3 separate regions of the Homo sapiens genome follow, and regions 1 and 3 are each linked to region 2. The links are contacts of gene promoters, found by promoter capture Hi-C in blood cells and fetal thymus (Javierre and others, 2016). All regions are on one chromosome and are shown on one strand. The core of a region is centred on a gene start or on the middle of the fragment in contact, and the rest is flanking DNA. Distances in the headings are between cores, read along the strand shown. Region 1 overlaps SLA2 (Src like adaptor 2). Region 2 holds the start of MTCL2 (microtubule crosslinking factor 2). Region 3 holds the start of SLA2 (Src like adaptor 2).

Region 1 (2,700 bases), core at 7-2,506, 240 kb before region 2:
ATTGCTTGAACCCAGGAGGCATAGGTTGCAATGAGCCGAGATTGTGCCACTGCACTCCAGCCCAATGACAGAACGAGACTCCGTCTAAAAAAAAAAAAACACACACAAAAATTCGCAGGGCGTGGAAGCATTCACCTGTAGTCCCAGCTACTCAGGAGGCTGAGGTGGGAGAATCGCTTGGGCCTGGGAGGTGGAGGTTGCAGTGAGCCGAGATAGTGCCACCGCACTCCAGCTTGGGTGACCCTGTCTTAAAAAAAAAAAAGTCTGGGCGCGGTGGCTCATGCCTGTAATCCCAGCACTTTGGGAGGCCCAGACGGGCAGATCACAAGGTCAGGAGATCGAGACCATCCTGGCTAACATGGTGAAACCCCATCTCTACTAATACAAAAAATTAGCCGGGTGTGGTGGCAGCCGCCTGTGGTCCCAGCTACTCGGGAGGCTGAGGCAGGAGAATGGCGTGAAACCGGGAGGCAGAGCTTGCAGTGAGCCGAGATCCCGCCAACTGCATTCCAGCCTGGGCGACAGCAAGACTCCATCTCAAAAAAAAAAAAAAAAAGAGGAAAAGAAAAGAGATAAACCTATTATAGCTACAGAAGAGGTATTTTCAAGATGCTATGGGAGTTGAGAACAAAAATTGACATAGTATGGGAAGGCGATAGCCTGGGTAGGTGATAGTCTGGGAAGGCGATAGTCTGGGTAGGTGGTAGTCTGGGAAAGTCCCACTGGAAAGAATGGCGAAGGATGAGTGTGAGCTTGCCGTGAGGAGAAGCGGAGGGCAGGCTTTCCAGATGGAGGGAGGGGTATGTGTAAGGATGCAGCGGTAGAAAGAACAAGGTGTTTACAGAGTGGCTGGTGGGCAGAGGGTCCAGAGGGAACAGTGGAAGCTGTGGCTGGACGCGGAGCCTAGAGGAGGACCCACCAGAAAGAAAGGCCAAGTATAAGGTCCTAATTTCAGAAAGCTCCAGCAGGCTTAGGCAACATCACCTCCGGGACCTCTGGGGTCAGGTATTCCAGTGATGATGCTGGGAGTGAGGGATGAGGGATCAGATAAGGAGCTGCATGTGAGAAGTGGGCCTAGCAGGACCCTCCTGAACCTTCTCTGCTGAGGCCTCTAAGAAGCTTTAGGGATTGAATGTTGCACCCTCCACTGTCTGCACCCTGAGGACAAAAGCCATGACTTAGCAGGCCTGACTCGGAGGAGATGCTCAGTAAGTGTTTCCCAACTGACAGTGGACAGAGGTGAGCCCTGCAGGGGCAGGAACCACGTCTTGCTCATCAATCTCCCTTATAGTGCCTGACACAGAACAGATATACAGCAGGACAGCGCAGAGGGGCTGCTGCTGGGGCCTGTCCCTAACCCTGTGCTGACCTCTGCACAATCCTGTGACCTCCACAAAGCTTCTAGGCCCCCTTCACGGAGCAAGATTTGGGGCCTGACTAGAGCCTGGCCATGGCTGTCCCGAGGCCTATCATATAGCCAGGTATGCCAGAAGGACTTGGGAAGATGGGGTCTTCCTGCTCCGGACTCTGATTAGTGTTCCTGGTAGCTCAGGGCCCCAGGCCTTCCTCCTTGGTCCACATGCAGGCTTGAAGCTCGTGTGGAATCAGTGCCTTTGGGCCAATGAAAAGCTGATCCTGGCATCACTCACTCACTTGGTCAATGGCTAATTCCCATTATATACGACAAGAGCATAATGTAAAGTACATTGTCTCTTATTACTTCATTCTGGGTTCCCTAGATTGGAACTCTGTTTTCAAACTCAAGAGAACAATAGAACCATCCAGAGAGCCTGTCCAAGAAGCAGATTTCTGACCTCTGCCCCCAAAAGTCTGATTCAGTTAGGTCTGCGGTAGGGCCTACAAGTCTACAGTGTCAACAAGTTCCCCTGATGAGTCCTGTACACTCAAGTCTGAGAACCACTGTTCTATGACGTCACTTGGGCCCCTAGAGTCACTGTGGTGTCAAACCACAGTATAAAAGTTTACACTGTGACGCAGGACACACCTTATACAAAATCTGAAACAAAAGTTTTATGACGCAATGTTTACCCCAACCATGGTCATGTTCTCTGCTCAATTTCACTACAAACACGCACTGGTCCAGACGCACTAAATTAGTGGGTTCCGACCCTGGCTACCCATCAGAATCACCTGGGCAGCTTTTACAGTGTGCAGGCCACATCCCTGACCAGTGAGATCAGAAACCCTGGAGGTGGGGTACAGGCATCAGTGTTGATTTATTGAATTTATTTATTTATTTGAGACAGGGTCTTGGTCTGTCACCCAGGCTGGAGTCCAGTGGTGTGATCATAGCTCACTGCAGCATCGACTTCTTGGGCTTAAGTGATCCTCCTGCCTCAGCCTCCCAAGTAGCTTAGACAACACGCACATGCCACCACACCTAGCTAACTTAAAAAAAAATTTTTTTTTTTTAAGAGATGGGGGTCTCCCTTTGTTGCCCAGACTGGTTTTGAACTCCTGGACTCAAGTGATCCTCCTGCCTTGGCCTCACAATGTGCTGGGATTACAGGTGTGAGACACTGCACCTGGCCCCTAAACTGATTTCTTGACCCACAAATCAACCATGACCCGCAGGAAAATTTTACCTTTCCTGGAAAATTGGCAAATTTCTTCTTTCTTTTCTCCTCCCCCAACTAACATTTTTCATCTTCCTCTTTGATAACAATAGCTGCATCCTGA
Region 2 (2,764 bases), core at 105-2,604:
GCGCCCGGGAAAGCCCTGGGTAACGACTCAGGATGGCATTCAGGCCTTTCCTGGGCAGGGGATGGCCACAGGTTTCCCTGGCGGCGGTGTCTATCAATCCCGTCCCAAGAAGGAGAGCCTGGGCGTGGAGGTTCTGGGCAGCTGAAGGCAGAGATCCATCCCTTCCCTGGCTACCCACCCCCACCTCAGCAACGCCTCCCAGAACGCTCCAAAGCTTTCTCAAGTCCCCGCTCCCAGGTTAGGGCCCTGTAGCCAGTTCCAAGGTCTTTTTCAGGAGCGCGCTTCCCAAATAAAGTTGAGAGGGGGCGGGGGGAATGAGGGAGCCCCAGATCCACCTCAGAGTGGTCCCCAGAGGGCTTGGGCCCCTTTCTCCGGATTGTTCAGTGGGAAGGAGGGCCGGCTGGTGCCTCAGGCCCGCGGGACTGTGACAGCCGGCGACCCCTGCGACCTCCCTTTCTACCCGGGCGCCCCCACCTTGAGATAGTCGTTCTCCGAGCGCAGCTCCTCCAGCTCCCGCACCAAGCCGCTGGGCCCGCAGTCCAGCATCTCCTCGGTGAGGTCGGAGAAGGCAAGCGAGGCGCTGAGCGGCAAGCGGCTGCTGCCCACCGACGACGCGGCCACCGACGGCTCGTCCGGGGAGGCGGGCGGCCGCGGGGGCTGCTGCGCGGAGGGCGCGGGCTGGGCCGGCTGCCCCGTACGGACCCCCGCCGGGCCCCCGGCCGCGGACTCGGCGTCGCTGCTCAGCGCCAGCTCCAGGCCCAGCAGGCGCGCCTCCTCCGACGCGCAGTCCGACACCTCCGAGCTGCTATCCGTGAGGCTGGGGGGCGGCGGTGGCGGTCGCGGCCCCGCACCCGAGCGCGGACGGCCCTTGGCACGGACCCCGGTGCGGACCCCGGCCACCCGCACACCCGCACCGCGCGCCCCGGGAGCCACTGCGCGCCCCTTCTTGTCCGGCCGTGAGGAGAACGCGGCGCTGCAGGCGACTGCTGAGCCCGGGCCTGGGCCGCGGCGGCCCTTAGCCAGCGACCAGCCGGCCACGTCTTTGGGCCGGGCCGGCGACGGCGCGCGGTGGCTCTTTTTCCTCTCCGGGGCAGGCGCGGGTGCAGGCGCGGGCTGGGGACCGCAGCCCCGGACCGGGGGCTCGGCCGCCGGCGCCTCCATCGCGGCCTCCCTCGGCCTCAGCGAGCTGCGCGCATGGCCCAGGCCCGCCCGGCCTCGACGTCCCTGGGGAGGGACCCGGCGCGGCTCCGGCCGCTGGGGCTGCGGCTGCTCTCGGCCCACCTCGGCCCCGACACCGCGTCCCCGTCCCAAGCCCCGCCGCGCGGTCTCTCCGCTGCTCTGGGCTCGGAGAGTGCGGCCCGACCGCCTCCAGGCGCCCCGGCTCCGGCTGCGGCTCCGCCCGGCGCCCGCCCCCTCGGCCTCGCCGCGCCCCCGGAGCGCGCCCGGGCCCCCGCCGCCCGCACGCCGATCGCTCCCTCGGGCTCCGAGTCCGGCTGCGGCCCGGGCCCCGGCTCCGCCCGGCGCAGCCCGCCCCCCGCGCAGCCCCGCCAGCTCCCCGCCCCGCCGCCTCGGCTCGGGGGCGCGCGGTTCCGCGAACAAAAGGCGGACGCGGCGGGAGCGGCAGGGAGGGACGCAGGCAGGGAGCGAGGGAGGGATCTGCGAGGCAACAGCGACCCCTTCGAGGGTCAGGCTGGCGCGGGCAGCCGCGGCCCGGGCTCCCTCCTCCTCCGCTCCGCCGCCTCCTCCCCTGCCCGCTCGGGGAAGGCACCCGGCGGAGGCGCCCCTGCGCCCGGCGTCCGGGCAGGGCCTGCGAGAGCGGCGGGAGCCGGGACTCCCGGGCCGAGGCCGGGCGGACCTCAGTTCGCAGGAACCCGCATCCATGCACGCCCAGCGCCTCGCCCCTCGCCCCGTGCCGAGCGTGCGCGAACTCCGCCCCCTTAGCCGGCATCGCCGGAGCCGCGATCCCATCGCACAGATGCGTAAACTGAAGCCTGGGGTGCACGCGCCAAGCTCACGGTCTAGGCGGCGCCGATGGGACCCAAAGCTCACACCTCCCGGGCGCGCTCGGGCTCCCCCTGCCTCGGCTTCCCTCTCCTGGCATAGGGACCGTGAAGCCCTGTGTGCATGCCTGGCTCGCGCACCTTGACCGGCGGATATTTCTCCCCATGCGCCCCCGACCCGGGTTTCAGGCTCTGTACGGCTAAAATGGAAGCGACCCGTAGCTAGGCGCGGTGGCTCATGCCTGTAATCCCAGCACTTTGGGAGGCCGAGGCGGGTGGATCACGAGGTCAGGAGTTCGAGACCAGCCTGACCAACATGATGAAACCCCGTCTCTACTAAAAATACACAAATTAGCCGGGCGTGGTAGCGCGTGCCTGTAATCCCAGCTACTCGGGAGGCTGAGGCAGGAGAATCGCTTGAACCCGGGAGGCGGAGGTTGCAGTGAGCCGAGGTCGCGCCACTGCACTCCAGTCTGGGTGGCAGAGCTAGACTCCATCTCAAAAAAATAAACAAATAAATAAAAACAAAAATAAAATGGAGGGGACCTATTACGAGATGTCAGCCTAGCGGATGCTTTGGAAGGCGGTTTTGGCCCCCGTGGGGGCTGGCATGGGCTGGGACGGTTGCCCTGACCCCACACGTCCCCACCAGGAGCAGTGCAGGAGGACTTGAGCTCTGATGGGCGTGTTTTCTTTCCTCCCGGGCGTCTGGGCGTCTCCTTGGCTCCTGGCCGTGTTGATTTTCCCATGTCTCTCACACCTTC
Region 3 (2,853 bases), core at 264-2,763, 220 kb before region 2:
GGGAAGGCCCAGGGCCCTTTGAGCTCTGTCACAGAGACACAGGCGTGGGGTCCTTGGAGCTCTAGCTCCGACTGCAGACTCTGTGGTTCTCACAACCACCCGTTTCCTCTGACGGCATCACAGACCGTCGAGGAGCCACCTTCCCCAAGTTCCTGTTTCTAGGGGAGCAGCTGCTGCCTTGTCATGATCGTGGAGCAAAAGGTTTTTCTCTGGCTTTGTGGCTTAGTCTTGTCCAAGGAACACAGGACTGAGGAAAATGAGCCGGAGTTCCCATGCTGGCCTGACCATAATAATCACTCAGCGGGACTTAATTGTAGCAATTTCTGGGATCTCCCAAACTTTCTAAATCCAAGTCTCCAGATAGGGAGCCCAGGAATCTAAATTTTAAACCCTGCAGGAGATTCCCTTGACTGACGAGTGTGGGAAGCACTGCCTTCTCAGCCTTTAATGTGTATAGGAATCACCTGGGGATCTTGTTGCACTGCAGGCTCTGATTCAGAAGGTCTGGGGCAGAGTTCAGTATTTTGCATTTCTAATACGCTCCCAGGTGACCCCCATGTTGCCAGTCTGGGGACCACACTTTGAATAGCAGCAGTATCTGGACAGTGGTCTCCAAGTATGGTCCCTAGACCAGCAGCCTCAGCGGGAATTTGTTAGACATGCAAATTCTCAGGCCGCATCCCAGATCTATGGAATCATACTCTGGAGGTAGGCCCAGCAATCTGTTTTCATGCCTCCAGGTGATTCCGATGCATGCCCAGGCTTGATTTTTTTTTTTTTTTTTTTTTTTTTTTTTTTACAGGGTCTTGCTTTGTCACCCAGGATAGAGTGCAGTGGCACAATCATAGCTTAGTGCAGCCTTGACCCAGGCTCAAGTAATCCTCCCTTCTCAGCCTTGAGTAGCTAGGACTACAGGTGTGCACCAGCACTCCTGGCTAATTTTAAATTTTTTTTGTACAGATGAGGTTTCACTGTGCTGCTCCATCTAATCTCAAACTCCTGGCCTCAATTGTTCCTCCCACTTCCACCTCCCTAAGTGTTGGGATTACAAGCATGAGCCACAGTCCATGCCCAAGCTTGAGAATCACTGGTCTAGGATAAAGAATCTGACTCTGGCTGAATTGTCTTTGATCAGTGTGTTACCTTCAGTCCCACTCTTCATTAAGATTTAACCACACCCTCTCGCTGCTTCCCCATTAGGGGGATTAGTACTCTTGGAGACAAAGGGCCCACTGCACTGAAATGATTCCTGACTCCAGCTCAGCCCATGCAGCCCTTTCTGGGGCCTTGCCAGCTACAGCACTCCTGCTCAGGTTCTCCTTTGATCCTAGGGAAGGCTGGTTTGATTTTTATCCTTGTAGGCACTTGGCACACAGAGCTGAAGGAGCCAGAGTGGAGGCACACTTCTGCAAGAGAGTTCTAATCAGGACGTTAGAATGGGTGACAGCCACTCAGGGATGTGGGCCTTGGCAGGGAGGGACTTGAGCTTGAGCCCACCTTCCCACTCCTGCTGCCATACAACTGTAATGCCCGTCTTCTTATGATACGCACATCTTCAAAACAAGCCTCAAGGTGCAGTTCATGAATGGGGCAGGAAGTAGGGAATCTCTGGTCTCTTCTTAAAAGAATCCCACGGCATAACTCTCCTTTTCTACTTAGGGAGGCACCTAAGAATTACAAAATTTAAAATCCTAGGTCTATCCACTAAGAAATATGCACTGGTGTTCCTCCCTGGCTCCTGGCCAGAGCTGCTAAAACCCTTCTAATTTCCTCGGTGACAGAAGTGTTTTCTGTTCTAATGAGGCAACACTTGGTGGGCTCCTGGATGGGGACTGGTCACTAGAAAGACAAAGCCATCATTATGAGCTTGGGGCTTTCAGTCCCACCTCATCCTCTGGAGTGGGGAGAGGAGCTCGAGATTGAGTTAATAATTGATAATGCTTATGTGATGAAGCTTCCATAAAAATCCCTAAAGTACGAGGTTCAGAGAGTTTCCAGGTTGGTGAACACATCCAACACACCAGAAGGGTGGCACACCCCAACTCCCTGGGACCCCTCCAGACCTTGCTCTATGTATTATTATTATTATTTTTAGACAGATTCTTGCTCTGTTGTCCAGACTGGAGTGGAGTGGCACAATTTAGGCTCACCGCATCCTCTGCCTCCCGGGTTCAAGCAATCCTCTTGCCCCAGCCTCCTGAGTAGCTGGGATTACAGGTGTGCACCACCACGCCCAGCTAATTTTTGTATTTTTAGTAGAGACGGGGTTTCATCATGTTAGCCAGGCTGGTCTCGAACTCCTGACCTCAGGTGATCCACCCGCCTTGGCTTCCCAAAGTGCTGGGATTACAGGCTTGAGCCACTGTGTCCAGCCTCCTACATACTTCTTTATCTGGCCATTTACCTGTATCCTTTATCGTATCCTTTTTTTTTTTTTTTGAGACAGAGTCTTGCTCTGTCACCCAGGCTGGAGTGCAGTGGCGCAATCTCGGCTCACTGCAAGCTCCGCCTCCCGGGTTCATACCATTCTCCTGTCTCAGCCTCCTGAGTAGCTGGGACTACAGGCACCCACCACCACACCCAGCTAACTTTTTGTATTTTTAGTAGAGACGGGGTTTCACCGTGTTAGCCAGGATGGTCTCAATCTCCTGACCTCGTGATCCACCCACCTCGGCCTCCCAAAGTTCTGGGATTACAGGCGTGAGCCACCGTGCCCAGCCTATCGTATCCTTTTTATTTTATTTTTTTCTGTTTCTAGAATACAGACAGGGTCTCACTATATTGCCCAGGCTGGTCTTGAACTCCTGGGCTCAAGCAGTCCTCCTGCCTCCCAAACTGCTGGGATTACAGGTG

What was found. Contacts are between HindIII fragments. The CHiCAGO score rates a contact against its expected background, and 5 or more counts as called.
Region 1: a fragment that was not itself captured here is called in contact with the fragment with the promoter of MTCL2 in region 2 in 1 of 17 cell types (endothelial precursors); the score reaches 5.7 in endothelial precursors.
Region 3: a fragment that was not itself captured here is called in contact with the fragment with the promoter of MTCL2 in region 2 in 1 of 17 cell types (endothelial precursors); the score reaches 5.6 in endothelial precursors.

Annotation. Positions count from the first base shown.
Region 1 is chr20:36,626,304-36,629,003 of GRCh38, forward strand. All of the region lies in intron 5 of SLA2 (Src like adaptor 2), which reads right to left. Among named protein-coding and RNA genes, the nearest start is that of SLA2, 19 kb to the right of the region's middle. The HindIII fragment of the contact is 279 bases long and covers 1,118-1,396 here.
Region 2 is chr20:36,862,184-36,864,947 of GRCh38, forward strand. It overlaps MTCL2 (microtubule crosslinking factor 2), which reads right to left and starts at 1,355. Exons shown (of 15, transcript NM_080627.4): 1 at 475-1,355. The coding sequence starts at 1,161. RefSeq lists silencers at 955-1,104, 1,175-2,064. The HindIII fragment of the contact is 4,947 bases long and covers 213-2,764 here.
Region 3 is chr20:36,646,124-36,648,976 of GRCh38, forward strand. SLA2 (Src like adaptor 2) reads right to left here and starts at 73. Exons shown (of 8, transcript NM_032214.4): 1 at 1-73. The HindIII fragment of the contact is 878 bases long and covers 1,075-1,952 here.